Regions from separate parts of the Homo sapiens genome. Here all the other regions are linked to region 2. The links are contacts of gene promoters, found by promoter capture Hi-C in blood cells and fetal thymus (Javierre and others, 2016). All regions are on one chromosome and are shown on one strand. The core of a region is centred on a gene start or on the middle of the fragment in contact, and the rest is flanking DNA. Distances in the headings are between cores, read along the strand shown.

Region 1 (2,990 bases), core at 349-2,848, 590 kb after region 2:
TTGGCCAGGATGGTCTTGATCTGCTGACCTCGTGATCCACCCACCTCAGCCTCCCGAAGAGCTGGGATTATGGGAATGAGCCACCGCACCTGGCCCTCAGCCTCCCAAAGAGCTGGGATTACGGGAATGAGCGACCGCGCCCGGCCCCAGGTTTTTATATTTGGCAAAGGAGAGAACTGCATACCATTTCAGTCGTAAAATTATTAAAGCTTTCTTTTTTCTTTCTCTCCACCCCCTGCCCACCATATCAAATAGGGTTCTCCTTCCTTCTAATCTACAGATTTTCCTTTGGTTGCCATCTTTGTATACTTCTTAACTCTCCGTTTGATCAAAAGATAGTTTTGGCTGGGCATGGTGGCCCACGCCTGTAATCCCAATACTTCAGGAGGCCAAGGTAGGAAGATGGCTTGAAGCCAGGAATTCCATACCAGCCTGGGCTACAAAGCAAGACCCTGTCTTTACAAAAAATAAGAAAACTTAGCTGAGTGTGGTGACCCACACCTGTAGCTGCGGCTACTCAGGAGGCTCAGGCAAAAGGATCCCAGGAGTTTGAGGCTGCAGTGAGCCATGATCACTCCACTGCACTCCAGCTTGGGTGACAGAGTAAGACGCTGTCTCTTAAAAAAAATTTTTAAAGTAGTTTTAATAAATGGTAAGCCCTGGGGTTCTCTCTCCCTTTGCTTCTGGCCCTTCTGGTTTGGATTGAATAAAATCAAATCTGTTTTAAAAGAAGCCAGAAACGTGAAGAGTTTGCCCCCTCCCCTCCCTTGGTCTCTCACGTGTAGCAGCTGGACATGTTGCTGGCCTCTCAGGAAGCTCCGTGCCACGGGCCCCTGAGGTTGTCCTGTTAGTGTTTGGGGGACCCATTGCCAGTCTTCCCAGGCTCACATGCAGGCTCATGGCCAGTGTGGTGCCACCTTTGGGAAAGCCGGCCATGGCTTCTCCCAGCCCCCAGGGTGGGGTTCGGCGCAGGCGTCCACAGCCCCATCCCACCATTCCTGGGAGCGGGGGCTTTGCTGGCCACTCGAGCCCTGTGTCCCAGCAGCTGTACTACGTTCAGTTTCTTGCCCTCCCGGGGCCCCTGTCCACCACTCTCCAGCTTGGTGCCTCCCACCCAGCTAACTGGCACCCCTCAGCCTCCCATTCCGTCTTCTTCAGCCGGTTCCCTCGGGGCCAAGCCTGGGTTTTGCTGACTCTCCTGCCAGATTTAGACTGGGGGGCAGGGGCCATTTACCACCCTCCATTGCCCTCGTGGCCCAGGCCTGGTCAGACTCAGGGTTCTGCGACTGAGATCCTTCTGCCTAGAAAAACATTCACAGAGCTGGAAGTGTCAGATCACTGGTTACAGTATGAAAGATTCTCAAGTGTGATTTTTTCTCCAAACTTTCCATCTTGATGCGTTTTCAGATTTGTAGTAGTGCGACTAAGACAGTAGTTCAGAGAATTCTGCTAACCCTTTACCCGGATCTCCCAAACGTGAGCGCAAGCGTGACTTTCGAACCTCAGGAATCTGTTTCCACTTTTCCAGCATGCGTGGAGTGGCAGTGCTAACGGCTGGTGTCTCGCACTGTTGGCCTGTGAAGGTACGTGAAGCTGAAAGCCTGGAATGGCTGGAAAGGGGTCATCAGGCAGGCGGCCCCTGCTGCTGGGGCTGCTGGTGGCCGTAGCCACTGTCCACCTGGTCATCTGTCCCTACACCAAAGTGGAGGAGAGCTTCAACCTGCAGGCCACACATGACCTGCTCTACCACTGGCAAGACCTGGAGCAGGTGAGGGGCCCCTGCTGTCTTTGGGGAAAACCTCATGTTACCAGCTGGCAGGGCCCCGGTGCACTGACCTGCCCTTCTCCTCGCAGTACGACCATCTTGAGTTCCCCGGAGTCGTCCCCAGGACGTTCCTCGGGCCAGTGGTGATCGCAGTGTTCTCCAGCCCCGCGGTTTACGTGCTTTCGCTGTTAGAAATGTCCAAGTTTTACTCTCAGCTAATAGGTAAGGGGGTCTTCAACAAAGGAGGAGGGAGTGAGGGACTGTGGTGTCATCGGGTGACCTCAGCGAGGCCGCGGTCCCTCCTGCCCAGGAACGCTGTCTGTTAGTCTTGCCTGCCCTCGATCACCGTGGCATGGCGGCTCAGAGCAGGTGCTCAGGTCAGGCCTAAGACGTCTGAGTCAGCCCCTCTGTGCCTCCACACTCTTGACTGTGAAATTAGGGGTGACGGCAGGTACAAGAGAAATGCCGACTGCCTGTGAGGCAGCTCTCGCCACCTGAGCCTGCTGCTCCCGCCTCACCTGGCAAGCCCCCATGGGGTCAACAGCCTTTATTCCTGCAGAAGCAGCACCATTTGCCTTGGGGAATGTTACAAACAGAAACCTCACATTCCCAGAGGCCACCACTGCAGGGCCTGTGTGCAAATCCTGGGTCTTTCTCTGTGCCCACATGAGGACTTTAAAAAAAAAAAATTAGAACGTTTTGTACATATTGTTCTAAAAACCGATTTTTTTTTCTTTTTTGAGACAGGGCCTTGCTGTGTCACCTAGGCTGAAGTGCAGTGGTGCAATCATAGCTCACTACAGCTTTGAACTCCTGGGCTCAAGTGATTGTCCCACCTCAGCCTCCCACAGTGCTGGGATTACAGGCATGAGCCACCACGCCCAGTCACACAACCTGAGTTTTTGAAGTCAGCAATCACCACTTTTTTATTTCAGTACGCTTTTATTGCTTTTAATACCCAGACATGCTTCCAGCGAGTCAGTCCAGCTTGTGTGGAGAGCTTTAAGAAGTAGCACGTTCCTGGGGAAGGAGCAGTTCTGCTTCTTGAAGGGGCAGATTGGGAACGGAAACCCACCATGGCACGGGGACAGCTGGACAAGCCGTGCATGTCCTGTAGAGGCATCAGGAAGCCCCAAATGGGGAGGAGTTGGGGGGCCACGAGCCAGGGAAAGGAAGTCCACAGGCAATTCCGGGGCTGAGTCCACATTCCCTTGGAAGCTTCTGC
Region 2 (3,101 bases), core at 541-3,040:
CTGAGTGTTAAGCATGGGGCTTCACTATAGCCACATTTAGCTTTTGCTTTTGGTTGAACAGCGGTGTCATTTTCCGAGATGGGAAAAGCTGGGGTTTAAGCAGAAAAATGAAGAGTTCCACTTTAAATATGTTAAATGAGATGTTTGCGTGACACCCACTAGATGTCAAGAGAGCAGCTGGATATGTAAAGTAGATTTGGAGGAAAGATCTAGGATGGAGCTGCAGATCTGGTAGTTGTCCTAATACAGGCAATATTTAAAATCATAGAAATAAATGACACTTCAGGGTAAATGCATCAGAAGATGACCTAGGCCCCATCCTGAGGAACTCAACACTTAGAGACTGGATAGAAAAGAAAAATCAGGCAATGAAATAGGGAAAAAAAATCCTACCACCATGTTTCAAAAAGAAAGGAGTGGCCAGTCCAACAAATGCTGACTTATGTCCCTTGGATTTGGTAGAATGGAGATCACTGCTGATCAAGACAAGAAACATTTAAGTGTCGTGGACGCCAGACTGAGCTGGGCTGAGGAGTAAAAATGAAGCGCAAATATGGAGCAGACAGCTTAACACAGGTCTAGACAGGGCTGTCAAACATGGAAGAAACACTAATCGCTAACAGGATAGAGCATGGCAATAGCTTGAAATTGGTTTGAAAATCCAAGATAAAAAATTCCTCTGACATCGTGATCCAGACCTCTCAAACACACAAGCATGCTCGCAATAACTGCAATAAAAGCAATAATGCTTTCTAGTCTATTCCACTACGTTAGAGAAACGGCTGGTCACCACCCACTCAATCATTCACGGCTCGCTGACGGGTAGAAACCTGCAATGACAGGTCCACGCTAATCCAACAAGGGATGATTTGGGGAGGCAGAGATGGAGTTTGAAAAGAAGCAGGGAGCCCGAGGACCTGCGCGGCCAGAGCGCCAGATAGCCATAGGCGTGGAGACGGTGGGGCGCCCACAGCCCCGGGCCCGGAGCCCCCGCCCCGCAGCCCCACCCGCCGGCCCACCCCGCGTCACTCCCCCGCCGCCCTTACCTCCTCCAGATACTCGCCCAGCTGGGCCGCCACGTCCACCTCCCAGTTCTTGGTGAGGTCGCGGATGGGCTGCAAGAGGTGGGCGAAGCGCGCCTCCACGTCCTCCATGTCCGGGAGGGAACGGGCGGCAAAGGGACCGCAGGGCTGCCTTCCGAGGGGTACGGCGTCCTCAGCCCGCCACTAGTTCTGGCGCCATTTTGCTGTTCCCGCCCAGGAAAATGCGTAGGCGCGGCGTCGCGCGCATGTCTATGACGTAACGTGGGCAAAAGCCAGAGAGGCGAACCCCGGCGCCGCGCAGCGGGAGCTCACCGGAAGAGTCGCGGGGCGGGGTCGAAGCCTCCGGGAGGGGGGGGTGGGCGGAGCTTTGGGCTGCCACCAGTTTGGACGGGAGGGCTTTTGGGGCCGCCGTGGGTCGGGCGGGGCGGGGTGGGGCGGGGCCTGGAGCTGCCGCGGGCGAGCGGGCCGAGGAGGCGGGGCTTGGGGGCTGCCACGGGTTGGGGGGGCGGGGCGGTGAGGAGGCGGGGCCTGGGGCAGCCGCGGGCGGGCGGACGGGCCGAGGAGGCGGGGCTTGGGGCTGCCACGGGTTGGGCGGGCGGGGCGGTGAGGAGGCGGGGCCTGGGACTGCCGCGGGCGGGCGGGCGGGCCGAGGAGGCGGGGCTTGGGGCTGCCACGGATTGGGCGGGCGGGGCGGTGAGGAGGCGGGGCCTGGGGCTGCCGCGGGCGGGCGGACGCGGAGGGCGGGCCCTGCTCTAGCGGGCCGCGTAGCGGACATGGCGGGCTCCCGGCTCCCGCGGCAGCTCTTCCTCCAGGGCGTGGCGGCCGTCTTCATGTTTGCTTTCGCTTCCCTCTACACGCAAATCCCAGGTGAAGGCACCCAGGGTGGGACACCCCCAGCCTCGGCGCGGGACCCTATGTCCTCTTTTCTCTGTGCCCGGCACTCACGCAGTCCGGGGTTGGGAGTGAGGGCCAGGCCTTGGCGTGGGGTAGGGGGCGGCGGTTCGTGTCCTGCAGGCCGCTGTGGGGGTAGGAAGGTGTGCGGTGATCCATTTCCCGTAAGGCTCTGGACTCTGACCTGGGGTGGGGGACAGAACTCTGAGAGAGGTGGGAGAGAGGCTTCCTCCCAGACCTGGTGGGACAGGTAGGAGATCGGGCTGAGACCTGGAAGAGGGCAGTGGGCTCTGCTGGGTGGGAGGCCCTGACTCAGGTAGTTGAGCAGGCCTCTAGCCCTGGGACGGGGTTTTGACAGGTCCCGACCTGGGGGACGGGCTCTGGAGGGACTGCAGACTCTGACCTAGGGATGGAGGTATCCGCATGCTCTGACCTAGGCTGGGGGATCTGCAGGCCCTGACTCAGAGGTAGTCTAGTCTGCAAGGGCTGTCCAGGGCCTGGCCATGACATGCCCTCCCACAGGCCTGTATGGCCCCGAGGGCATCCTACCTGCAAGGAGGACGCTGCGGCCTCAGGGCAAGGGGCGCTGGCAGCAGCTGTGGGAGACCCCGACGCTGCTGTGGGAAGCGCCGAGACTGGGGCTGGACACGGCCCAGGGCCTGGAGCTGCTGAGCCTGCTGGGTGCACTAGTGGCCCTGGGAGCCCTGCTGCTGAGCCCACTGCGCCACCCTGTCATCTACTTGCTGCTTTGGGCCGCCTACCTGTCAGCCTGCCAGGCAAGTGGGACCTGTGACCAGCTCACTCTATCTCCAACCCCCACCACCCACCCCTGCCTCTACCTTACCTGAGTCCACAGACACACCCGCTCCCTGACAGCCCCTCTCTCCGCAGGTGGGCCAGGTGTTCCTTTATTTCCAGTGGTGAGTGACGGCTGGGCCTGGGGCTGTGGGAGGCTGGGTAGGGGGTGGGGGAGGGCTCTGCCCTTCCTGGGAGGACTTTCCGAGGGAAGCAGCTGTGTGGGGAGGGGCTCTTGGTGCTATTTGCTCTCCCCATAGGGACTCCCTGCTGCTAGAGACTGGCTTCCTGGCCGTGCTGGTGGCCCCGCTGAGGCCAGCCTCCCACCGCAAGGAGGCCCCCCAGGGCAGGCAGGCAGGGGCCCTGCCCCAC
Region 3 (3,103 bases), core at 294-2,793, 650 kb after region 2:
CAGGCGCTTGGGCCGGGCAGGAGGTACGCACTGGGATGCCGTGAGGCTGCCTCTGCACCTCATGGACAATGCTCTCCTGGGGCTTCCGCCATCGCCCCCAGACCCTTCAGGGCAACCTCCTCTCCCTATGAGGTCTCCGGAGCATGCTTTCCTGAGAAACTGGGATTACCCCTGCTCTCACCTGCCGGTGTTTCTCCTTGAAGCACTTACTGAGCCTTTTTCTCTGGTTTACGCTGCTCCTCACCACCACCATGTTCCCTACGGCCAGGGCCTTCTTTGAAAACCACCATGGCCCCAGCAGGCAGAGAGGCAAGCACCTCTGTCTCTCCTGCTCCCCTCCGCCTCAGAAATGGCAAAGAGCTTATTTTATTCCTAACAATGCCTCCCAGAATTTGAACTACAAAAGCACATATCCAGTGATGACCAAGGAAGGGATCTGAGGTACTGCAGAATGTAGAAAAACCTAGGTGCTAAAAAGTGGGGAGCAGAAGGGCCTGGAAGGCTGGGATGCAGAGAGGCCCGAATCCTTGAAAGGGCTGAAGCCAGAGAGCTGCTGGAATCCACAGACACTAAAAGAGAAAGCCAAAACCAAACCGCTAAGGGGTGTCACGGGCTAAAGGCACAGTGACTTTCTTACACAGCCAAATGTAAATAAGAGCAATTCCTATAGGTACATTCTCAGGTCCTGAGATTTAAACAGTGAAGGAAACAACGTTGGTAAGGAAGGGCCAGCTTGGCCTCTACCCCAGGGCTGGGCAAAGCCACGCCCAGCTGTTTCACCTGCTCCCTCCTCTCAAAAGACAACCACCACACCAAAGAGAATGAGACCAGAAGCTAAAGCCAGGCAAAGAAAAAAACGCAAAACAAAGTGAAGGACGGCACTGACCACGGTCACTTCCTGCTCCTCATGCCGCCAGGAGTCCACTCCCCAGGGCTCCTCACCAAGGATCTGAGACACACACACACACACACCTTTCGCTAAAGAAGCTGCTTCTCAGCTCCTCTGCACACACACAGAAGTCAGTCCGCTCCCCTAGTAATTTTTTTAGTCTTTCTGCAAGGTGTTATGGACATACTTTGCACAGCTGAGTTACTCACTGTGTGTGTGGAGGGGGTTGGGGAGGAGGTAACCTTAAAGAGCAGAGGTTTTACATCCAACAACATCAACCACCTTATTCAGGAATTACCTGGACAAGAGTGTGTGTTGGGGGAGACCCTGTAACCACCTGTCAAGTGGACTAAAAGTCTTAGGTTTCTTTCCATATAGATTAACTGTGTCCTCACCTCAAAGACCGGGCCTCTGAAGCTTTTTCAAGATTCACAGAATCTCTCTTAACTTGTGCTAGATCTTTTCTTGAAAAAAAGCCAATCATGACAAGCAGATATAATCCGTTTAAGGACTACGGGAAGTGTGCAGCCTTGTACGGACGTCCCATTGGAAACCCTCGGAGTATGGAATCAAACTCCTGTAAACTTTCCTCTTGCAAAGTAACTTTGTTTAGTAATTGCAATTAATTCATAATCAAAATGTGGCTTATTCATAGCACTTAAAAAAAAATCCCAACCAAATCCTTCCTAGCCTCAATTTTGTCACTATGAATGACATACACAGAAAAAATAAAAAACATTTCTGTGTAAAAAGTCGCAGGATGCCCTTGCTTTACCAAACTGGCCTCACTATGAGGTCTGAATGGATTTCTAAAAACGTAATCTGATCAGAGTTAACTTCAAAATAAATAACTTCCCTTTCGACCAACACGAGAACACCAACAGAAGCTTCTGACGGCTCAGCTTGGCCGGGACGTGTTTCCACAGAGGTGCCCGGGTCTACCAGGGCCACCCGGAATAGAAAGGCGCAGAAGGGAGCCCGAGGGGCTGCGATTCTCTTAGCAACGAAGGCGGTGTGGGCCACACAACGGGACAAAAGAAGAAACAAAACTGACTGCGAGCTCATTTGGGTGTAGGAAAACCACTGCAGTCGAAAAACATTTGAAATTATGGTTCGCAAGGCAAGTTACATTTTTATTCATTAAATGTGAACGGTCATCCCCAGAACCACGTACAATAACCTGCCTCGGGGCGCGTCGCAAGGACCCGTCTGGGCTGAGACATGAAGCAGGGCCCAGGTGGCCCTTCCTGGAGGTGGGACGGGAATGACACGTCCAGAGAAGTCCCAGGGACGGGGCTCGCGGGGTTAACTCGACGTGGCCGGGACAGCGCGCTCCCGGCGGACCCGGGCGGCGCCCCGAGCCCGAGCCCCGTCCCGTCCGCCCGGAAGCAACGGCGCGGGCACGTGGGCCAGGCCGGGCGCCGACCCCCGGCACTCGGCCGCTCAGTCGGCGCCGCCCCCGCGCCAGCTGTCAGGGCCGGGGTCCGCGCGGGGGCGGGTCCGGGGCGGCGCCGGGCGGGGACCCCGAGGCCACGGAACCGCGCCCCCGCCCGCCTGGCCCCGGCCCTGGCCCCGGCGCGGCGCAGACAATGGCGCGGCCCGGCCCGGCCCCGGCGCGGTCCGCGGGGGACGGGGCTCGCGGCAGGCGGCGGGGCGGCGGCGCCCGCGCACTCACCTCGGCCCGGCCTCTGGGGCGGCTCCCGGCCGGCTGCGGACGACGGCGGCGCGGGCGGACGCTCCATTCATTACCGCGGCTTTGTCTGCCCCCGCGCCCCTCCCGCGGCCCCGCCGCCCGCCGCCCGCGACGCCGCCGGACGCTGCGCCCCTCCCAGGGCCCCGCGCGGCGCGGGGCGGGGCTGGCCGGGGGCGGGGCCGATCGGGGGCGGGGCCTACTCTCGCAGGCGCAGTGTCCGCGTACCCGCCCCGCCTCGTCCCTGGCCGGGCGGGAGGACGGAGCGCCGGAGGCCCGGCCGCTGGGGCGGGGTCGGGCGGAAGACGCAGGCGCAATGCGCGCTTCGGCTCCGCCCCCGGGTCCAGGAGGGCAAACTACGCAGGCGCAGTGGGCGCTCCGGCGCTGGCGGGCGACGGGAAGGGCTTAGGCGCTCTGGCTGGGCGGGGCGCGGGCGCCTTGGTTTCGTCCCGTGGCTTGGCAGTTGGCAGCGGCTCGGCGCGCACCCAACGGCCCACCGCGGGTTTCCGGGACGGCTAGCAGCG

What was found. The method cuts DNA at HindIII sites, captures the fragments that hold promoters and counts their contacts. A CHiCAGO score of 5 or more calls a contact.
Region 1: a fragment that was not itself captured here is called in contact with the fragment with the promoter of LMF2 in region 2 in 2 of 17 cell types (neutrophils and fetal thymus); the score reaches 7.0 in neutrophils.
Region 3: a contact is called between a fragment that was not itself captured here and the fragment with the promoter of LMF2 in region 2, in 5 of 17 cell types (total B cells, erythroblasts, monocytes and 2 more). The highest score is 8.6, in total B cells.

The regions. Positions count from the first base shown.
Region 1 is chr22:49,912,382-49,915,371 of GRCh38, reverse strand. It overlaps ALG12 (ALG12 alpha-1,6-mannosyltransferase), which reads left to right. Exons shown (of 10, transcript NM_024105.4): 2 at 1,529-1,768; 3 at 1,855-1,987. The coding sequence starts at 1,607. Among named protein-coding and RNA genes, the nearest start is that of ALG12, 4.6 kb to the left of the region's middle. The HindIII fragment of the contact is 2,774 bases long and covers 212-2,985 here.
Region 2 is chr22:50,506,391-50,509,491 of GRCh38, reverse strand. It overlaps LMF2 (lipase maturation factor 2), which reads left to right and starts at 1,790. Exons shown (of 14, transcript NM_033200.3): 1 at 1,790-1,910; 2 at 2,457-2,710; 3 at 2,826-2,854; 4 at 2,990-3,101. The coding sequence starts at 1,817. It overlaps NCAPH2 (non-SMC condensin II complex subunit H2), which reads right to left and starts at 1,268. Exons shown (of 20, transcript NM_152299.4): 1 at 1,047-1,268. The coding sequence starts at 1,154. RefSeq lists silencers at 730-1,019, 1,690-1,789 and an enhancer at 2,010-2,059. The HindIII fragment of the contact is 8,515 bases long and covers 1-3,101 here.
Region 3 is chr22:49,853,451-49,856,553 of GRCh38, reverse strand. ZBED4 (zinc finger BED-type containing 4) reads right to left here and starts at 2,710. Exons shown (of 2, transcript NM_014838.3): 1 at 2,565-2,710. It overlaps LOC124905147 (a long non-coding RNA gene), which reads left to right. Exons shown (of 2, transcript XR_007068156.1): 2 at 1,268-2,052. LOC105377205 (a long non-coding RNA gene) reads left to right here and starts at 3,042. Exons shown (of 5, transcript NR_188597.1): 1 at 3,042-3,103. RefSeq lists silencers at 2,063-2,352, 2,523-3,103. The HindIII fragment of the contact is 470 bases long and covers 1,309-1,778 here.